2 separate regions of the Homo sapiens genome follow, and region 1 is linked to region 2. Evidence: promoter capture Hi-C in human tissues and cell types (Jung and others, 2019). All regions are on one chromosome and are shown on one strand. The core of a region is centred on a gene start or on the middle of the fragment in contact, and the rest is flanking DNA. Distances in the headings are between cores, read along the strand shown. Region 1 holds the start of APOBEC3C (apolipoprotein B mRNA editing enzyme catalytic subunit 3C). Region 2 overlaps PICK1 (protein interacting with PRKCA 1).

The links. The method cuts DNA at HindIII sites, captures the fragments that hold promoters and counts their contacts. A contact is called where the count stands out against the background at its distance.
Region 1: a contact is called between the fragment with the promoter of APOBEC3C here and a fragment that was not itself captured in region 2, in 1 of the 25 tissues and cell types used here (dorsolateral prefrontal cortex).

Annotation. Positions count from the first base shown.
Region 1 is chr22:39,011,565-39,017,090 of GRCh38, reverse strand. It overlaps APOBEC3C (apolipoprotein B mRNA editing enzyme catalytic subunit 3C), which reads right to left and starts at 2,834. Exons shown (of 4, transcript NM_014508.3): 1 at 2,712-2,834; 2 at 1,340-1,496. The coding sequence starts at 2,728. RefSeq lists a silencer at 2,544-2,593 and enhancers at 2,704-2,813, 2,386-3,003, 2,733-3,027, 3,004-3,622. The HindIII fragment of the contact is 14,453 bases long and covers 1-5,261 here.
Region 2 is chr22:38,059,893-38,065,498 of GRCh38, reverse strand. It overlaps PICK1 (protein interacting with PRKCA 1), which reads right to left. Exons shown (of 13, transcript NM_012407.4): 4 at 369-497. Among named protein-coding and RNA genes, the nearest start is that of PICK1, 5.3 kb to the right of the region's middle. The HindIII fragment of the contact is 9,593 bases long and covers 1-5,606 here.

The DNA of each region.
Region 1 (5,526 bases), core at 1,585-4,084, 950 kb before region 2:
CTGGCTAATCTTTGTATTTTTAGTAGAGACTGGGTTTCATCATGTTAGCCAGGCTGGTCTCGAACTCCCAACCTCATGATCCGCCTGCCTCAGCCTCCCAAAGTGCTGGGATTACAGGCATGAGCCACCGCGCCGTGCCCGGCCCCTTCCTTCTTTATTTTATTGATTCTTTCCCTGTCTCATAGACTCATGTGTGAATTCTGCCATCTTTTCTCCCAGGCATCCATTCACCAGGCATCCTCAGCCCCTGCTATGGCCTGGCTCTCTGGGGTCAGCTTTGTTCCCTGCCTGCCTTCTGCTGAGGAATCAGGGCAGTGGCGGGGGCGGCCCCACCAGCCCGCAGTCACTGGCCCAGACACAGCGCTGGACACAACACCCCCCGCTTCCCACAGCTGCTGATTCCCGAGGACTGCCGGACGCACAGCTCCATAACAAGATTTTGGGAAACAAAGTCAAGAGTGAGGGTGCTGGGCGCTAAACAAGGCCTTTTGGGAGGAAGCAAACCCCCTCCACGATCTGATCACAGGAGAGTCAGGGAGGAAGATCTGGGCCATGGACTTAAAAAATGTGGGGAGGCCGGGCACAGTGGCTCATGCCTGTAATCCCAGCACTTTGGGAGGCCAAGGCGGGCGGATCATGAGGTCAGGAGATCGAGACCATCTTGGCTAACACCATGAAACCCCGTCTCTACTAAAAAAAAAAAAAAAAAGAAAAAAAGAAAAAATTAGCTGGGCATGGTGGTGGGCGCCTGTAGTCCCAGCTACTTGGGAGGCTGAGGCAGGAGAATGGCGTGAACCCGGGAGGCGGAGCTTGCAGTGAGCTGAGATTGTGCCACTGCACTCCAGCCTGGGCGATAGAGCAAGACTCCGTCTCAAAATAAATAAATAAATAAATAAATAATGTGGGGAGGAGGCCAGGGGCATGGTGTCTCACGCATGTAATCCTAGCACTTTGGGAGGCCAAGGCTGGTGGATCACTTGAGGTCAGGAGTTCGAAACCAGCCTGGCCAACATGGCAAAATCCTGTTTCTACTAAAAATACAAAAGAATTGGCTGGGCATGGTGGCAGGTGCCTGTAATCCCAGCTACTCGGGAGACTGAGGCAGGAGAATCGCGTGAACCTGGAAAGCAGAGGTTGCCGTGAGCTGAAATCAGACCACTGCATTCCAGCCTGGGTGACAGAGCGAGACTCCATCTCAAAAAAAAAAAAAAAAAAATAGAAATGTGGCAGGAAAGTGCACACAGGAGAGCCCACGCCGGGCACATCACTTATTGTTGCGTTTTCTGCATTCCCAGCTGCTTAGCTCCTATTTAGGGTGTAACTAGGACTTTGGTGCTACCTGGTTTCGGAAGACGCCCGTCTTCCAGGAGACAACTGAGCGGCGCTTTATACCTTCCACGGTGAAGCACAGCCAAGTTTCGTTCCGATCGTTGGCTTCCCATAGGTTTTTAAATTGGAAGTAGAATGTGCCTGGATACATTGCCTTCATCGGGTTTCTGAAGGCACAAGAGAGAAACCCCAATGCAGAGACCCCCGCACCGGAGTCCTCAGGGCTGATGCCCACTGAACACAGCTGCCTGGACGTCCCTGGGCTCTGGGCCTCCCCCATCCCTCCACAGCCCTGAGAATGTCTGCTGCTTTCCCAGGCAGGAAGACGGGGAGAGAGAAAGAGGAGGGGACGCTGGCAGGGGCAGCAGGGCCGGGGTGACCTCTCCTAGCTGGAACCCCAGCTCTGGGGCTACCAATGGAACACCCTCAACCTCCCAGTTTTTCTGCTACTTTTTTTTTTTTTTTTTTAAAGACGGCATCTCGCTCTGTCCCCCAGGCTGGAGTTTGCAATCTCAGCTCACTGCAACCTCCACCCCTCGGGTTCAAGGGATTCTCCTGCCTCAGCCTCCCAAGTAGCTGGGATTACAGACGCCCGCCAGCACCCCTGGCTAATTTTCTGTATTTTCAGTAGAGACGAGGTTTCACCATGTTAGTCAGGCTGGTCTCAAACTCCTGACCACAAGTGACCCGCCCGCCTCAGCCTCCCAAAGTGCTAGGATTACAGGCATAAGCCACCGTGCCTGGCCTAAAATAAGAGCATTTCTCCTGATCATCATATTTTTTCCTACACTCCATGTTGCAGGTGTCATTCTGAAAGGTGAACGGTGCTCACAGAGGAGGAGCCTGTGTCTGGGGTCGTGTGCATCCTACTCTGCTCACAGTGGAGGCATCTTTGGAAGAAGTGACTTATTTTCTGGTACAGAGACCATTCCCTCCCCCACACCCTCTCCTAAGACTTTGTATTGAAACAAAGTAAATCTTACAGAAATTGCACCAAAGCGCTGAGAACAAAATGCCTGATTGCTCAAATCATCCTTTGGTTCAATTCTCCCAGTTCCAGAGCTCCCAGGAATAGTGGGAAGCACACAGAGGAAGCACCCTCCCAGGGCGGGAAGCACCAGCCCGGGCATGATTTTCGGGGGAGAGTCTCAGCAGGCGGACTGGGCTGGGGCAAGTGGGGAAGGTGGCCCATTCAGAAGCAGCAGTCGTGGGACCACACAGCAGGGCAAGGAGCTTGGCTGGGAGTGGGGGCAGCGGGGGAACCAGGGGGGAGGGAGCCCAGAGGTGGGGCTGGGGCAGGGGGAGGCCAGGGCTGAGGCCCAGCAGGACCGCCTGGCAGGAAGTGGCAGGAGGGGCCTGGCGGACAAAGCGTGCAGAGGTACCTGATCTGTGGATTCATGTTCAGCCTCTTAGATATGCTTGTCCCTGTCCCACTCTTTTCTGAAGCGCTGTGGCTTCTCTTCCTGCTTACAGCGTCCTTGCAGTTGAGCAGCCCTCTTTAAAGTGACCTCCCAGGGCCTTGTGAATCATGGCCCCTCCCCATTCCTGCTCAGGCACTGGTGTGGGAGGCCCCGGGGTGCTTCATGTTTCTCTGGCTCTGGCCCTCTTTCTGGTTTTCTCCGGGCCCCTCCTACTGGCAGAGGAACCTCCGATAAAGACAGGCTGCTCTGTCTTTATCTGTCCTGGGCAGGACCCAACGGAACTGCAAAAAGAAGAGAAAGAGAAAGAGAAAGGCATTGCAGCCTGAGCCTGGGACGCGGGTCCAGACCCAGCTGAGAGAGGGGCAGGTGCCCCGTTGCCTGGTGGTTGGGCAGGCTGGAGCCCCCTCTCCACCACCCCCTCCCCAGCCCTAATGTGTGCCCAGAGCTTTGAGCAGCACCACCCTGTTGAGTGAGGGGAGGTTTTGAGACCCCAGTGGGGAAGGAAGTGTGGACTCCGCACAGCACAAGCGAAGGCTTAGGTGTGCCTCGAGTTCCCAGCTGTGTGCTGAGTCCATCGCACGCATCCCCTCTTCCAACCTCCCAGCTTCCAGAAGGTGGGGGGCAGTTCAGCCCCTCAGAGATGTGGGCGGAGGATTACCTAGGTGCTGAGGCAAGAGACTGAAGGCACAAACTGTTTCAGTATAATAAAGAATATACTTACAATAAGAATAGTTATAATACAAATTAGATACAGAGATGATCATGGACATTATCAATCATTAGTGTAGATATTATTAATCATTAGCTTTTAATATTACTCTTTATTGTATTACTAATATAACCAAGAAATAACCGGTGGGTATAGGGTCAGGTGCTGAAGGGCTGTTGTGAGAAGTGACCGAGAATGCAAGAGGTGAGCCCTCTGTCACACCCGCATAAGGGCTACTGGAGGGCTCCTTGGTCAGGCGGTAACGCCAGTGCCTAGGAAGGCATCGTTACTTAGCGGACCACGAAAGGGAGTCTCCCTTTTCTTGGAGGAGTCAGGGAACGCTCAGCTCCACCAGCTTCTTGTGGGAGGCTGGATAGTATCCAGGCCTGCCTGCAGCCATCCGGAGGCCTAAACCCCTCCCTGTGATGCTGTGCTTCAATGGTCACGCTCCTTGTCCACTTTCCTCCTGTACTCCTGGTCCCTCTTTGAAGTTCTCAGAAGATAGCGGTAGAAGAAATAGTGAAAGTCTTAAAGTCTTTGATCTTTCTGATAGGTGCATAGAAGAAAACGCTGACGTATACTGCCTTCCCTCTCTGCTTCGGCTACCTATAAGGGAAGGGCCCCCTGTCCTATGATCACGTGACTTGCTCGACCTTATCAATCACTTGGACGACTCACCCTCCTTACCCTGCCCCCCTTGTCTTGTATGCAATAAATAACAGTGCACGCAACCATTTGGGGCCACTACCCATCTCCGTGTCTTGATGGTAGTGGTCCCCCGGGCCCAGCTGTTTTCGCTTTATCTCTTTGTCTTGTGTCTTTACTTTTTACGATTTCTCATCTCCACACACGGGGAGAACACCCACTAAGCCCCATAGGGCCAGACCCTACATCAGGGACTGCGATGTCTGCGACATCAAGCGGTGGAAGCAAGTGTCTACAAACAGGCTCACGGCCCACAGGGACCTCTCAAGGGGTTCCGTGTGGACCAAGAAAATGTGAAACACATACACACACAACTTTCTGATTATTTAAGTTCATCTAAGCATATTTTGGAGGAATGAATGTACATTGTATCCTTGAAATAATCTTCCTAAATAGATTCCTTTAAGGGGAGTTTGTTCTTGTGGGGGAAAGAAAGAGAGATGAGACTGTTATTGTGTCTATGTAGAAAGAGGAAGACATAAGAAACTCCATTGTGATCTGTACTAAGAAAAACTCTTCTGCCTTGAGATGCTGTGAATCTGTAACCCTAGCCCCAACCCTGTGCTCGCAGAAACATGTGCTATATTGACTCAAGGTTTAATGGATTTAGGGCTGTGCAGGATGTGCCTTGGTAAAAATGTGTTTGCAGGCAATAAGCTTGGTAAAAGTCATCGCCATTCTCCAGTCTCGAGTACCCAGAGACACAGTGCACTGCGGAAGGCCGCAGGGACCTCTGCCCAAGAAAGCCTGGGTATTGTCCAGGTTTCCCCCCACTGAGACAGCCTGAGATATGGCCTCATGGGAAGGGAAAGACCTGACCGTCCCCCAGCCCGACACCCGTAAAGGGTCTGTGCTGAGGAGGATTGGTGAAGGAGGAAAGCCTCTTTGCAGTTGAGATAGGAGGAAGGCATCTGTCTCCTGCTCATCCCTGGGAATGGAATGTCTTGGTGTAAAACCCGATCATACATTCTATTTACTGACATAGGAGAAGACCGCCTTATGGCTGGAGGTGAGACATGCTGGCGGCAATACTGCTCTTTACTGCACTGAGATGTTTGTATAAAGTCAAACATAAATCTGGCCTACGTGCACATCCAGGCACGGCACCTTTCCTTAAACTTATTTATGACACAAAGTCCTTTGCTCTCATGTTTTCCTGCTGACCCTCTCCTCACCATTACCCTATAGTCCTGCCACATCCCCCTCGCTGAGATGGTAGAGATAGTGATCAATAAATACTGAGGGAACTCAGAGACCAGTGCCCATGCGGGTCCTCCATATGCTGAGCGCCGGTCCCCTGGGCCCACTTTTCTTCCTGTATACTTTGTCTCTGTGTCTTATTTCTTTTCTCAGTCTCTCATC
Region 2 (5,606 bases), core at 500-2,999:
GTCTACTGACCCAGGGAGGATCACCTTGGACTTTTAGCTTCAGCTCTGGCACTGACTGGGGACACATGGGCTTGCCTGAGGGGTGGTTCCAAGTCTGTCAGCTCCCTGGGAGCTCATGGGGACCTTGTGGTCTTGCTGCCCACTCTCTTGCCAAGGTTCAGCACAAGTCCTGGAGCACGATTAGTATTTATTGAATGAATGAGGGATGGATGAGGGAGGCTGGAGTGTGACCCTGACCCTGCACATGACAAGGAAGGGGGCGGTGAGGGCTGATACCCCCTTCCAGGCCTGCTGGGACCTCTGGCAGCCTGGAGGTCTCAGAAACATGTGTTGCTGCCTCTGGACACCTGCTCTGCAGCAGCCCTTACCTTCACCTCCTGAATCATCTTCGCCACCTCCACCTTAGTTTTCCCTTTGATTGACCTGCCATTGACACCGGTGATCTCATCGCCAGCTGCCACTGTGCCGTCCAAGGCTGCTGGGGTGTTGTCAAATACCTGTGGGTGCATAAGGAGAGTGGTGGGGGAAGAAAGGGAGGGCTAAGATGGAACCTGGGAAGACACCTGACCACTGCCTGGCTCTGTCTTCCACTCTACCCTCTGCTCTCGTTTTTTGAGAAAGCGTCTCACCACCCGGGCTGGAGTGCAGTGGCGTGATCACAGCTCACTGTGGCACTGAACTCCTGGGCTCCAGCAATTCTCCTGCCTCAAATACATAGTCAAATGATTTCTTTTTTTTGAGTCGGCGTTTCGCTCTTGTTGCCCAGGCTGGAGTGCAATAGCGCCATCTCGCTCACCGCAACCTCCGCCTCCCGGGTTCAAGCAATTCTCCTGCCTCAGCCTCCCGAGTAGCTGGGGTTACAGGCATGCGCTACCACGCCCGGCTAATTTCGTATCTTTAGTAGAGACAGGGTTTCTCCATGTTGGTCAGGCTGGTCTCAAACTCCCGACCTCAGGTGATCCACCTGCTTTGGCCTCCCAAAGTGCTGGGATTACAGGTGTGAGCCACCGTGCCCGGCGGCATCAAATGATTTTTGACAAGGGTGTCAAGAACATTCAATGGGGAAGGACAGTCATTTCAACAATGGTATGTGAAAAATGAAGTTGACACTACTTAACACCACATACAAAAATTAACTCAAGGCCAGGCGCAGTGGCTCACACCTGTAATTCCAACACTCTGGGAGGCCAAGGCAGGCAGATCACCTGAGGTCAGGAATTCGAGAGTAACCTGGCCAACATGGCGAAACCCCATCTCTACTAAAAATACAAAAATTAGCTGGGCATGGTGGCAGGCGCCTGCAGTCCCAGCTACTCAGAAGGCTGAGGCAGGAGAATCGCTTGAACCTGGGAAGTGGAGGTTGTAGTAAGCCGAGATCATGTCACTGCACTCCAGCCTGAGCAACAGAACGAGACTCTGTCTCGAAGATAATAATAATAATAATAATTAACTCAAAATTGTTCAAAGACCTAAATGTAAAAGTTAAAACTATAAAACTCAGAAAAATGCCTAGTCCAAAACCTTCACGACATTGGAGTTTACAGTAATTTCTTGGATGTGACACCTAAGATCCAAGTAACAAAAAATAAACAAATTGAACTTCATAAAAATTTTAAAACTGGTGCATCAAAATACACCATCCAGTCTGGGCAATGTGGCAAAACCTTGTCTCTACAAAAAACACGAAAATTAGCTGGGCATGGTGGTGTACGCCTGTAGTCCCAGCTACTTGGGAGGCTGAGGTGGGAGGATCGCTTGAGCCTGGGAAACAGAGGCTGCAGTGAGCTGAGATCCCGTCACTGTACTCCAGCTTGGGCAACAGAGTGAGACACTGTCTCGAAAAAAAAAAAAAAAAAGAACAGAGAAGAGAAGAAAAGAAAGGCAACCCACAGAATGGGAGAAAATATTTGCAAATCACATTTTTGATAAGGGATTAATATCCAGAATATATGCAGAATTCCTAAAACTCTTTTTTCTTTTTTTCCTCTTAGCCGATTGTGCTTTGTAGAGAATTCTTAAAACTCAACAACAAAAACCAAACAACCTAATTCAAAAATAGACCAAGGGCTGGGCACGGTGGTGCGCACCTGTAATCCCAGCATTTTGGGAAACCGAGGTGGGAAGATCGCCTGGGCAATATGGCAAAACTCTGTCTCTACAAAAAAAATACAAAAATGAGCCAGGCATGGTGGCGCGTGCCTGTAGTCCCAGCTACTCGGGGGTCTGAGGTGGGAGGATCGCTTGAGCCCAGGAGGTTGAGGCTGCAGTGAGCCATGATCGCACCCCTGCACTCCAGCCTGGGCGACAGAGCAAGATCCTGTCTCAAAAAAAAAAAAAGTTAAGATGGTAAATTTTACCACAATAAAAAAATAGAAAAAAGCAGAACAGAGAATACAGAAAGCAGGATGTCATCATCGAGATACATGACAAGAAGGACATGGTGTTCCCGATGACGCCCTCTGAGGATCTGGCACAATAAACAAAAGCCTGTGCCTGCAGCTACCATCACGACTCCTCCCAACACCAGGGACAAAAACAAAGTCCTCAAAGTTCTCACAGATCAGAAATAAAACACATCACAAATAAAGGATCACCAATAAGAATGGCAATAGCCATGTGACAGCAAAGGACAATGTGACAAGGCCATCACACTTCCACACAGGAATTACTGTCAACCTTGACGTTCATTCTTGAATCGAATGAGCCAAAATGTCAACTGAAAGGAATATGGGAACCACAATGACCAAAAAAGACAGACCCGAGGTCTCAAAAAATTGACATCCCACGTGCCCTTTCTCAGAAAGCTACAGGAGGATATTCTCCACGGGAGATCAGGGAGTAAACCAGGAAAGGGACCCCCAAGATGGGGGAATCCAAAGAGAAGGGGCAGGGGCAGGGGGAGGGCACAAGGGGGAGAGACTACAGGGCGGAAAACAGACTGAAGAAAATGGGGCCGGGCATGGTGGCTCACGCCTGTAATCCCAGCACTTTGGGAGGTCGAGGCAGGTGGATCACTTGAAGTCAGGAGTTCGAGACCAGCCTGACCAACATGGTGAAACCCCGTCTCTACTAAAAATACAAGAATTAGCCAGGCGTGGTGGCACGTGCCTGTAATCCCAGCTACTTCGGAGGCTGAGGCAGGGGAATCACTTGAACCCGGGGGCTGGAGGTTGCAGTGAGCCAAGATCACGCCATTGCACTCCAGCCTGGCAACAGAGCAAGACTTAATTTAAAAAAAAAAAAAAAAAGATGGGAAATTGTGGAAAACATACTGAGAAAACAAGGAGAGTGCAAATGAAAAAAACAAAACAGGAAATTACCCCCACCCTCTCAAAACACAAGAACAGGCTGAATTAAGAAAAGAAACATAGATTCCTCAGAAAGTTAAACATAGAGTTGTTTTGACTAGAATGAGGGCTCCGCAAGAGTAGGATCTTTGCTTTCTTATTCTTTTATCCCTAGTGCCTACAACAGAGCCTAGGAGGCATCTGGAAAAGATTTCCCGAACAAAATCTCCGTTGTACTAATATTAATTTAGCCAAAAATAGAAAAATAACTATGTTGGAAAGGTGGGATGAGAGGAAACAGACTGGTCATGGGAAGAACTAAATTCTCATCTACCAGACGAGGCAAAGTCAATAGATATTTACAGGTGATAGATCAAGAAACAACAGGATAGGCTGAGCACGGTGGCTCACGCCTGTAATCCCAGCACTTTGGGAGGCTGAGGCGGGTGGATCACTTGAACCCAAGAGTTTGAGACAAGCCTGGGCAACATGGCAAAACACCGTCTCTACAAAAAATACACAAAAATTAGCCAGGTTTGGTGGCACGTGCCTGTAATCCCAGCTACTTGGAGGCTCAAGTGGGAGAATCATCTGAGTCTGGGGAAATCAAGGCTGCAGTGACCCATGCTTGCACCACTGCACTCCAGCCTGGGCGACAGAGTGAGACTATTGAGAAAAATGGAAGCCCATGCATGAAGAGACAGAGAAAGCCGGGTGAGGTGCCCAGGGGAAGGGCAGTGGATTGCTATTATTTGATACAGGGCTTTTAATGCTCTTGACTTGGTAGAGGCAAGTCATATGGCACTTTGATAAAAACAAAATTGAATTTAAAAAAATCAATTCTATGATGATGATGATTATTATTATTTTTGAGACGGAGTCTCACTCAACTGCCCAGGCTGGAGTGCAATGGCACGATCTCGGCTTACTGCAACCACCATCTCCCGGGTTCAAGCGATTCTCCTGTCTCAGCCTCCCAAGTAGCTGGGATTACAGGAACCCGCCATCATGCCTGGCTAATTTTTGTATTTTAGTAGAGACAGGGTTTCACCATGTTGGCCAAGCTTGTCTGGAAGTTTTCACCTCAGGTGATCTGCCCACCTCAGCCTCCCAAAGTGCTGGGATTACAGGTGTGAGCCACCGCACCCGGCCAGTTCTATTATTTTATTGGCTGGTGGTTCATGCCTGTAATCCTAGCACTTTGGGAGGCTGAGGTGGGTGGATCGCTTGAGGCCAGGAGTTCGAGACCAGGCCGGCCAACATAGCTAAAACCTCTCTCTCCTACAAATACGAAAATTAGCTGGGCATGATGGCGCACACCTGTAATACCAGCTACTCGGGAGGCTGAGGCATGAGAATCGTTTGAATCCAGGAGGCAGAGGTTGCAGTGAGCTGAGATCACGCCACTGCACTCCAGCCTGGGCAACACAGTGAGACTCTGTCTCAAAAAAAAAAAAAAATCAATTATACTATTTTATGATGTCTGTTCATTCTAAGCAAACTTGCACCTGAGGTAGGTAGAGGGAGGTGGCGAGAGGCTGAGCAGACACACGGCCAGGAGGCCAGGCCTGGGGGAGGTCTTGCTAATGCCTCCTGGGTCACAGGAGGCCGAATGGCTCATGAAGGAGGCAGCACTGTGAGCAGAAGCAAGACCAGGTCGATCCTGGGAATCTGTCTTCGAGGCCTACAAGCGACTCCTGAGCAAGATCCTCACAGAGGCCAGTTTCCCATCTGCCACCAGTGAGAGGGTTAGAACAGGTATTCCCAAGGCTACAGCAAGGTCACTGACTTGGATGAGCCACACAGTGAAGGAGGCCCCACAGCAGGCCTGTCACCACTCCTGAGTTACAGTGGACAGAATATCACCAGTGCAGCTTCCTCTGCAAGAGACACAAGAGTGTTCCTCACCACTGGCAGAGCATCTGGGAAAATGTACAGCTACCTGGAAAATAGCAGCAGCTACTGCTTAATGCATGGTTCTTTCTTTTTTTTGAAACAGGGTCTCACTCGGTCACCCAGGCTGGAATGCACGGAATGCAGTGGCGTGATCTCAGCTCACTGCAACCTCTACTTTCCAGGTTCAAGCGATTCTCCTACTTCAGCCTCCCAAGTAGCTGGAAGTACAGGCGTGCACCACCACGCCCAGCTAATTTTTGTATTTTAGTAGAGACGGGGTTTCACCATGTTGGCCAGGCTGGTCTCGAACTCCTGACCTCGTGATCCACCCACCTCGGCCTCCCAAAGTGCTGGGATTACAGGTGTGAGCCACTATGCCTGGCCAATGCACGTTTCTTAACTTCTAGTGTGTTAGGTCGTTTT